Linked DNA regions of Homo sapiens: regions 2 and 3 are each linked to region 1. Evidence: promoter capture Hi-C in human tissues and cell types (Jung and others, 2019). All regions are on one chromosome and are shown on one strand. Each heading gives the region's core, a stretch centred on a gene start or on the middle of the fragment in contact. The rest is flanking DNA. Distances are from core to core; before and after follow the strand shown.

The links. The method cuts DNA at HindIII sites, captures the fragments that hold promoters and counts their contacts. A contact is called where the count stands out against the background at its distance.
Region 2: a fragment that was not itself captured here is called in contact with the fragment with the promoter of SLC22A16 in region 1 in 2 of the 25 tissues and cell types used here (neural progenitor cells and thymus).
Region 3: a fragment that was not itself captured here is called in contact with the fragment with the promoter of SLC22A16 in region 1 in 2 of the 25 tissues and cell types used here (aorta and small bowel).

The regions. Positions count from the first base shown.
Region 1 is chr6:110,474,875-110,478,315 of GRCh38, forward strand. It overlaps SLC22A16 (solute carrier family 22 member 16), which reads right to left and starts at 1,739. Exons shown (of 8, transcript NM_033125.4): 1 at 1,648-1,739. The coding sequence starts at 1,700. It overlaps LOC105377938 (a long non-coding RNA gene), which reads left to right and starts at 643. Exons shown (of 2, transcript XR_942860.3): 1 at 643-788. The HindIII fragment of the contact is 19,647 bases long and covers 1-3,441 here.
Region 2 is chr6:110,172,472-110,175,912 of GRCh38, forward strand. The region is part of intron 2 of WASF1 (WASP family member 1); the gene reads right to left. Among named protein-coding and RNA genes, the nearest start is that of WASF1, 5.5 kb to the right of the region's middle. The HindIII fragment of the contact is 5,240 bases long and covers 1-3,441 here.
Region 3 is chr6:110,208,526-110,211,966 of GRCh38, forward strand. CDC40 (cell division cycle 40) reads left to right here. Exons shown (of 15, transcript NM_015891.3): 5 at 559-698; 6 at 2,182-2,278. Among named protein-coding and RNA genes, the nearest start is that of CDC40, 30 kb to the left of the region's middle. The HindIII fragment of the contact is 3,610 bases long and covers 57-3,441 here.

The DNA of each region.
Region 1 (3,441 bases), core at 489-2,988:
ATTACCTCAGCTAATCCCTAAAAAACACAGGGGAACTAAGATGTAAGTACCACCTACCTCATTGAGTTACTGTAAGGATGAGAAACTGCATGCAGAGTCCTCATATACACATTTTCACTACTCCTATTTGAAAACATTTGTACTATTATTAGCCCCATTTTACAGATAAGAAAGTGGTAAATAAAATGCTCAAGACCGTATAGTTAATGTGTGGTAGCGCCAGAGTGGGAACTTAGACATCCAGCCTTAAAACTGATCTTTTAACCTCTGTGCTATTCTGCTTCCAGAAGGATGAAATGAGATCATACATAAAGAGCTTGGCCCAGCTGAGGAGCCGTCACCTAACCGTGCTCAGGAGTGCATCATGGTTGAGAGTGTGGGCTGTGGAGGTGATGGGCATCCAATGGCATCCAATTCTGCCCTGCTAGTATTAGATTTGTGCTTAGGCAGAAACCTTGGTTTTCTCATCTGTGAAAAGAGGGTGATACTACCAACCTTATAAGGCTGTAGTGAAGATTAAAGGAAGTAACATGTACCAACGGCTTATGACCGAGCCAGGCACAAGGCAGCGTTCAATGATGCAAGCAGAGGAAGAAGGGAACAGCTGGGGCTTCCTGCCCGTTTCCTCTGTCCTAACAGCTCCTTTTTGCAGACACTGGGAATCAAAACCAAAACGCATGCAACCTTCCACCTTGAAGAACAGCACCACATCATCTCTTTGCTAAGCCTGATTCCCGTTTTCTGGATAGGAAACTGACACACAAAGTATCTCCAGAATCATATCAGAGGTAAGTAGCAGGCCAGGATCGAGACGCAGCTCCAAATCTCCGGCCATAACGCTGCATGGCCCCTCACCCGGCTACCTCCCCTCTCAAAACACTCTGAGTCAGATAGAGGAGCTCTGTCCATGAGTGAACGAACGAATGAATAATTTAAATTTTTTAAATCAATTTGACAAATGAAAAGAGGGTGTACGGAGGTTAAACGTGGTTCCACCATGCGTTGGCTATGAGTCCTTGACCCCGCCAGCTTGTTTCCCAATCACTAAAATAAGGATTTGAACACCTCCTTTGCAGGGTCCCGGTGAACATCAAATGAAGAACTATGTGTAAGCGCCAGGTACAGTGTACCTGGCACGTATTAGGTTTTAATAAACGGCAACCAACTCTGACTAACGGTTGTCCCTGGGGAACACCTGCCAGGCACAGAGGGAGGCCCTACGGAGGCGCAGGGCAGAACTGGGCAGCAGCCGTCTAGGGAAGTGGCGGCGGATTAGAGAAACGGGCGGCCAGGCACAGGCACCCCCTACGAGTGAGATCTGGCCCCTCGAGCCAGATCTCCAGCCAGATGCCTCCAGCATCTGCTGCCGCGGAGAGCACGCACCAGGTCCCTCCTGCCCGGCAACAGGCGCACTCCGAGCGAGCCCAGCGCCTCTGCTCACCATGCCAGGTCCCGCTGCCAGAGGCCTAGAGGAGAAGCCCAGCTAGGGGCCGGCGTCTGGACGCCCGTGTCCCGACTGCGCGGGGTGAGGAGGAAGTGGAGATGTTTTCGGATCGCGAGCGCCGCGCGAGAACCCCGCCGCAACGGAAAGAAACAGACCCCTCGGCGCCGCCTCCCGCGTGGCGCCGCGGGGCCCCTCCCCCATACCTGCCGAAGTGCCCCACGTGGTCATAAATCCCCTCGAAGTGGCGGGACCCCATGGTGCGGCCGTGCACTGGGCGCCGAGTTAGCCGAGCTCCGGGGACTGCGGGTAGCGCGCCCCGCCCCGAACCTCCCCGCCCGGCCTCCTGCTCTCCCCGCGCGTCCCAGTGCTCGGGACCAGCGCGAGGCTGTATTCTGTTCCTCCCTCCGTCGCTTGGCCCCTCGGTCCCCCCAAGTATCTTCGGCTTTTTTCCTGCCGCCTCGGCCTCCTTCCCGGCGCGCTGTGGTCCCGGCGCCCGCGGTCGCATGGTGCCCTCGCCCCCAGCGCCGCCGCTCTCCCACCCGCCCCGCCGCCCACCCTGGCTCTTGGCACCATGTCTGCGGGGTCGCCACGCTCGAGGGAAGCCCCGACGCCTGGGAAAAGTTGTCGCTGAGAGAGAGCCCAGGGTGGGAATGCAAGGGCTAGGCTCGGTCCGGGGGCCGCAAGAATATATAGCCTTCAGCATGACGCCCCTCAGAAACATGGCTCTCAAACTTTAATGCCTAAGAATCTACTGCAGAACTTGGTTTAAAAGGTACATTTAAGGCCGGGCGCACTTGCTCACGCCTGTAATCCCAGCACTTTGGGAGGCCGAGGCGGGCGGATCACCTGAGGTCGGGAGTTCAAGACTAGCCTGACCAACATGGAGAAACCCCGTCTCCACTAAAAATACAAAATTAGCCGGGCGTGGTGGCACATGCCTGTAATCCCAGCTACTCGGGAGGCTGAGGCAGAAGAATCGCTTGAACCCTGGAGACGGAGGTTGCGGTGAGCCAAGATCGTGCCATTGCACTCCAGCCTGAGGAACAAGAGTGAAACTCCGTCTCAAAAAAATAAAAGTACAATTAGGCCGGCGTGGTGGCTCAGGCCTATAATCCCAGTGCTTTGGGAGGCCGAGGCAGGAGGATTGCTGGAGCCAAGGAGTTTGAGACCAGCCTGGGCAACGTATAGCGACACCTCGTCTATACAAAAATAAAAAATAAATAAATGTACATTTATTTTGAGACTCCATCCCTGATGATTCAGGATGCCTGGGGAACAGGAATCTGATTTTTTTTTTTTTTTTTTTTTTTTTTTTTTTTTTTTTTTTTGAGACGGAGTCTCGCTCTGTCGCCCAGGCTGGAGTGCAGTGGTGCAATCTCGGCTCACTGCAAGCTCCACCTCCCGGGTTCAAACCATTCTCCTGCCTCAGCCTCCCAAGTAGCGGGGAGGTGCCCGCCACCACGTCCGGCTAATATTTTGTATTTTTAGTAGAGACGGGGTTTCACCGTGTTAGCCAGGATGATTTCGATTTCCTGACGTCGTGATCCGACCGCCTTGGCCTCCCGAAATCTGATTTTTAATAAGCAGACCATGGCATTCCAAGCCACACTTTGGAGTGGGCAGGGGTTTGGCCCATAGCCAACCCAGGCAGGGGGTGACCTTCCTTCTGGAAGGTATCAAGTGAATGAACTTTAGGGAAGAAAGGTCAATTGCTGGTCCACAGCGCTGAAGCAGAAAAGCCAGTTTCCGACTATATCCACAGTGAGAGTTGCCTTCTCTAGTCAGCCTGGCAGTCACTGGCCCCACTGTTGGCGTGCTATTCCACTCTATAAGGCCACTAAACCTTGAGTTCCTAGAGAACAGGGATGCATTCTCTTCGTCACTTTGGTAGCCTCAGTTCCATAGCAAATGCCCTCTCTCTGAACTTCTCCACCTCATCCTTAAAATCTGAGCACACCTATCGCTTTCTCAGAGAAGTCCAACAGTTTGAGGGCCAG
Region 2 (3,441 bases), core at 337-2,836, 300 kb before region 1:
GCTTTTATTTTGGTTTAAAAAAAAATCAGTGCCACTATTCAAAATAGCAAAGATATGGAATCAACCTAAGTGTCCATCAATGGATAATTAAAGAAAATTTAAATGCAAACAATGAAATACTACTCAGCCATTAAAAAGAATGAAATAATCTCTTTTGCAGCAACATGGATGGAACCAGAGGCCATTATCCTAAGTGAACTAACTCAGAAACAGAAAGTCAAATACCATATTTTCTCATTTATAAGTGGGAGCTAAATAATTTGTATACATGGACATAAAGAGTGGAATAATAGATAATGGAGACTCTGAAGAGTGGAAGGATAGATGGTGGGTGAGGGGTGAGAAATTACTTAATGGGTACAATGTACACTATACTAAAAAGCCAGGCTTTGCCACTATGCAATATATCCATGTAACTAAACTGTACGTGTACCCTCTAAATCTATAAAAATAATTTTAAGAAGTGAGTGCTAGTCTTCATCCTCGACTAAAATATAAAATGCTTCACTGTTCCTCCCTTTTCGTTTAACCCTTTCACAATTCTCTGGCATAACCTGTAGCACATGCATGTTATAAAAATTTAGCAAATTTAACAAATTTAGCAAGATGTCCCTATTAAAACAACTAGAAAACAAACTTACTTTTGTAGCATAAGGTGAAAACATAACACACTTGACTTTTTTGGTAAAGGAATCAAACAAGTTATTCCATGCCCTGACACATAAGCTTTTCTTCTTTTCAAATAAGTTAGTCAATGTAACTTTATTGGAGTAGACCTGGCTAGGTTAGGAATAAAGAATGGCTACATGCTGGACTAACTACTATCAAGCACACCAAATTAAAAAAACAAAAAAACAAAAAAACTTTGCTGTCATCATCATCCAACAGATGTCATCACACCCAAAACCCACCTACTTAGAATTTCTTTAGGACCTTTAGTTTAAGAAATGGTACCTTTGCAGCATAAGGGAGTAGGAAAAAAATGGGACTTTGAAATCACACATATCTGTGCTCAAATTCCACCTCCATTTCTATTAGCCATGTGACCTTGAGCAAATTACTTGATCTATGAGAGGACTCAGTTTGCTGGTTGACAAGTACCACAAATACAATTCTAACAGTTTACGCAAAAAGGAGGACTTATGACAAAGGTAACTAGGATGTCTCTGGAACCCAATCTCAGGACCATGGACAAAGGAACTCAAATACAGTCAGGACTCTGTGCATCTGCTTCTTTGCACTCTTTGTTCTAGAAGCCCTGGCTTATCTAGCCCACAGGGCAAGAAACAAGGCCATTAACAGTTCCAGAGTTTTGTATCTCACAGCTTCAGCAACTGAAGAGAAAACAAATTATTCAACCTCTGGGCATGGAGGACCCAGGAAAAGTTCTGAGTGACTTGGCTTAGTAAAAAAGTGTCTAAAACCAGGCCAATAAACCACAGAAATGAACAGAATTGTGATTGGTATCTCTGGCCCCTTCCAAGCCAAAGTGATCTTTACAAAAGACAGATCTGATCCAGTAATTAACCCGATTAAAACTCTTCATGGCCTTCCCCAATAGACTTAAAATCCTTAACCTCGTTAAACCAAACCTCACGTAGGCCCTCTGCATAGTCTGGCTTCTGTTTACCTCTGCAACCTCATATCAAGTCACAATCCCTCTTACACTAAGCTTTAACTGTTTCACCTGTTCTTTGAATTCTCTTCCTTTTCCACCTAGCTAACTTCCACTAATCTTGCCTCTAAGAAGCCTCCCCTGACTCCCAGTGTAAATCCAGTTCCCTCTTCTTTTCCTTTACAGCATTCACCAAAATTTCTAAGTACAAATGTATTTGTTCAACACCTGTTTTTTACTATACTGTTAACTCCAAGAGAATAGAGACCTGTCCTTTTTAGCACCTACTTGGCCCTCAATAATTATGTGCTGATTATGAACTATGAATCACTGGTTTAACAAGGGGGACCCACTAAATGAACCAATTACAAATGAGGGGACAGTAGCAGGCAGGCAGAATTGTTATTATCAAGTTATTAAAATGACTGCTCCAACAGAAACTTATCAGTAAAAGGGGAGATAAAGCAGTTCTGAAACAATCTGGGCTTCCGCTAGGCAGAACAAACAACTTGTTCAATTCAGTTAACCTTTTTCTTCAATTAAATCCTTATAGGGCTATGATAGCAATTAAACAAGATAAATAATAAATGTGACAGCATCTATACAGAATCTTGTACATCTAGCAAGCAAGCAATGTCACTTCTTTTCCTTTTGGACCATGTTACACATTATTTTTGAATATCACTGATCTCCAAATAATTATTAAATACTCCAATGCATATGACAAAAATAGCTGTTTCATGACCTCTTCCCTCACAGCACCCTGATCTTTCCACATGGAACAGAATGACTTCTCTTTTATTCTGTAGTAATTGCATACACTCAAAATCCATTTAGCTTAAACCAAAAACAGGCACTGGGAACACAAAAATGAAGCAAAGCAAAACAAAACAACCAAACGCTTACAACAAAACTGTCCTCAAGGAGTTCACAGATTCACTTTCTCAATCTGCCTTCAGCTCCATCACATCCATACCAAAGCTCCATAGCACCCCAGGTAAGGCTGCTACAAATACAAGATGCCCCGTATTTTATGGGGCAATAATCCATCTTTATATCTTCATACTCCCACTTCATGACCTCATTCCAAAATTTTTTCCTTAAAAAAATTCTATGGAGACTGACTGGATATGATCTTTCTTCAAAGTATGAATAAAATCTACCCTGACTTTACCAATAGCTCAAAATAAGGAAACAAAGGAAACAATCCAAAAGAAAAATCCTGTTTCTTGACAGTGCTGGGAGTTTATTTTTAAAAATTAAAACAAACAAAAAACCCATCACAAAAATAACGCCTTTAAGAGACTAAAAAATCTTGCTTCTGAGAACAGGCACGTGTGAAAGGATCAAGACTACTTTCTTTTTCAGAGGTAGGTCCAGAAAGAAGAAATGTCCTCATAAGAGGGACGTAAGCGGTAACTTTAGGGAAAATGAACTCTCAGGAAAAAAAGGGGGTTACACCAAGCTTCGAAGTATCTTAGAATTTTATTTGTAGCTAAAACAGATCTCCGAAGTCATCTACTTCTACCTTTTCATTTTATAATCAAACATCTTGAGAAGTAAAGTCACGCAGAAGACTGCATTTCCTTCTAATTTTTGTCATGCCCTAACTTCTTGTCCCAGATAATGTAAGCCTATGCCACTCACTGAACTGAGAAACAGCCTCCTCTTCAAGTCCACTGGGTGAAAGAGAACAAGTTCCTAATAATGTTGTCATGTCTAACACAAGAGTTACAGATCCTAGCATTTCAGGGTACATCTGAAACTTATTTTTCCCATAGAAAGACTGTCATACAAATTATTATAGGTATTTTAATATACTTATG
Region 3 (3,441 bases), core at 612-3,111, 270 kb before region 1:
ACTGAAATCACTTGGAAGGAATACCATTTCTGGTGAAACCTTGTTTGATTTACATTTTTGCATTACAAGTGAAGTGAAGATAAGTTATTAAGTACTTACAGTAATTTAGTTTAATTTAGTTTTAAAATGATAAATTACAGTTTATTCTTGCTTCCAAATGTCACTTTATTATTACTTAGCAATAATGAGTTTCTGAGTTTTTTCCAGAAAGTCGTACAAATCCACTGACACAGCTTTTTGATTCAATAAAAGGCTTGTGCGCCATTGTAGGAGTACATATTTGGGTCTCTTCTTTAAGTATACAGTATTAGAATTTGCAGAATATTGAATTAGTTTTAAGTGTCTTTGCCCAGAAGGTTGAATCCCTTTTTCTGTAGCATGAGTCAGCGTATATGGTAGATTCATGTAGATTGTTTTTTAATAACTCTGGGGTCACTTGAACAATCATCTTTCTTTAACCATATAAAATAAAATTAAACATATGTTCATATTTCTTTAGAAAATGTACATCTTTGTAATCTCTCAGTTTTTTTTTTAATTTTTTTTTTGTTAACGTAGGTTTAACTGTATTTGAAACTGGTCAGAAGAAAACAGAAAAGAGGAAAAAGTTTAAAGAAAATGATGCATCCAATATTGATGGTTTTTTGGGACCATGGGCAAAATATGTGGATGAAAAAGATGTAGCCAAACCTTCAGAAGTAAGCTTTGATGTTTTTAATTGTCAATTCAGGTATACGCTGTATCTCTATGAAGGATATCTACATTAATAAACTTGAGATTTCTTTAGAGAACCAAATGACTCATCAAAATTTTTCTGCCTTTAGTTGATTGAAAATATACAATAAAATTTATTTGTTTTTCTTTGGGATATTTTTATTTACCTTTTCTGCTGATTTGTTTTCTCTCATGCTTTTTTATTAAAATACAATATTGAACAATTTTCATAAAGATTTCCTTGATATTGCTATTAAGCTGCCATGGTAGCTACTCTTCTGATACTAGACATTCAGATAGTAACTACAAAATCAGCCTTCTGTGACACTAGAATTGATTATAAATTTTATTGATTTATGAATTTATTTAAAATTTTCAACAAATTTTATCTCTATATATATCTTAAAAACTACTATAAAGTTTGTAAAGTAAATGCTCTGCCGTTCCCTTCCTCACCTCCTAATCTCACTGTCTCCATGAGCCAGAGAGTGTTCTAGGTCCCAGGCATACAGCAGTGGACAAGATCAAGAAAATCATGACCTCATGAAGCTTATATTCTAGCTGTTACTTACATCCAGTAAATCCATGTTTATAGTAATAGAAATAAACAGGTGATATCTAAGATGAATAAACTTATTCTACTATTTTTTATTTTAGATTTTATCTGTTGACTTGTTATTATAGATAGAGATTTACTACTACCCCATCTTCTGTCCCCAGCTCCTCCCAAAAAAATTGTGTCACAAATGTATAGCTATCACTTATATCCTTAGGAGTATGTAAAAACAATTAACTGAAAAACAACATTATGTGCTAAAATTCAGTTTCCATTCTGAAACTAGATTTTCTGATTGCCTTGTCTTTTTACTTGTATAACTAGTATAACATGTTAAAATTTATTTCTAGGTGTCACAGAAGGATAAGTTTTGAAAACTGATTTTATATAGTTGAAAAGTATTATCTAGTATCCATTATGTATTTAGTACCATTTCATAATTTGTGGAAGAGGTAATCAGTCTCTGCTTATAGAAGACTTGAGCTTGGCCGGGCCTGTAAGCCCAGCACTTTGGGAGGCCGAGGCGGGCGCATTGCCAGAGCTCAGGAGTTCGAGACCAGCCTGGGCAACACAGTAAAACCCTGTCTCTACTAAAACAGAAAAAATTAGCCAGGCGTGGTAGTGTGCACCGAGTAGTCCCAGCTACTCGGGAGGCTGAGGCAGGAGAATTGCTTGAACTAGGAAGAGGGAGGTTGCAGTGAGCAGAGATTCGCGCCACTGCACTCCAGCCTGGGCGACAGTGCGAGACTCATCTCAGAAAAAAAAAAAAAAAAAAAAAGTGTTGAGCTTGTTATCCTGGGAACATACTCGGACCAGATATGTAGAAGTCATTATAAAGAATTTATAACCAACTTTAGGTATAATGAGGTTCTAGAACATTCATTTTAAATTTCACTCCTTAATTTTCTTAGGAAGAGCAAAAAGAATTGGATGAAATCACAGCAAAGAGGCAGAAAAAAGGAAAACAGGAAGAAGAGAAACCTGGGGAGGAGAAGACAATCTTACATGGTAACATATTTTTTGTACATCTTCATTTTTATGAAAAACCTTCATATTTACTCTGTTCGCTGTTCATACAATATCAATTACCCTTACTATCAGCTGTAATAAAATCATTATGTTAAGTATAATTGTGTTGGACAATTTGTATCCCAAGGAAATTACAGCAGACTTCTGTATACTGATAAAGGAGAAAAAATAGCATGATTAATGATAGCCACAGATAATTTTTTTCCAAGTGTGAATGAATTTTATTAAATGGTAGATAAAAAGAAACTTGAATAGTCCACAATCTATTCTTTCGTAAGATAAAGTTGACTCTTTTGGTGTATTAATAGTGCCCCAGTCATTTTAAATGTTTTTAATGAAGCCAAATACTCAGGTATCCTCACAGTTCATAATCGTTATTCAGCTATATTCAGAATAAACTTGGATTTTCGTGTGAAAAGATGGAGCTTAAGGCTCTCATACTTATTTTGACTTGTAGAAGGAAATGCATATTCACCAAAACAAATCGTAAGTATTCTAGAATGTACCTGTTAATAATTAGTTATATTTAGGAAAATACATAGTGATTATCTAAAACTGTAAAGAATAGCTTAGCATTTACAGTGTTGCTTATTCTAATGTTATATTACATCAGATATTTAGGTTTGATGAAGCCATATTTGGTTCTTCAAGCTTCAGTTTTATCTCCAAGGAGTCTATTTAGTACTATGGTACTTAAAACTATAATAACAATAATATAAAAATAACATTTATTGAGTACTTACTCTGTGCCAGGCATGCTGCTAATTGCTGTATATATACTATGTCATTTAATTCTCACAGGTGACTTTATTGTAAAATTTGTGATGAAAGTGGGAAAAGATAAATGAAAAGGAACTGGAAGGGCATAAGAGAGGAAAGCAGGGGAAAAGGATAGTTGATATATTTTGTTTTGTTTTAACTTCCTTCTTAACCTGTTTTATTTCTGCTTCTTTACCAGTGACTAACAAGGCCCAAGTATTATCTTCCCTTGCTATAATTATGCCACAGTGAAGTCTTTATAGATCACTAAGATGTGTAAGTGATGAAAAGAAGTATAGATATTATCTAAAGGTCTATAATCTCTGGATATTTAGGAATTTCGAAATACTACCTCTAGTTGTAAATGATAGCAGTTATTTTAA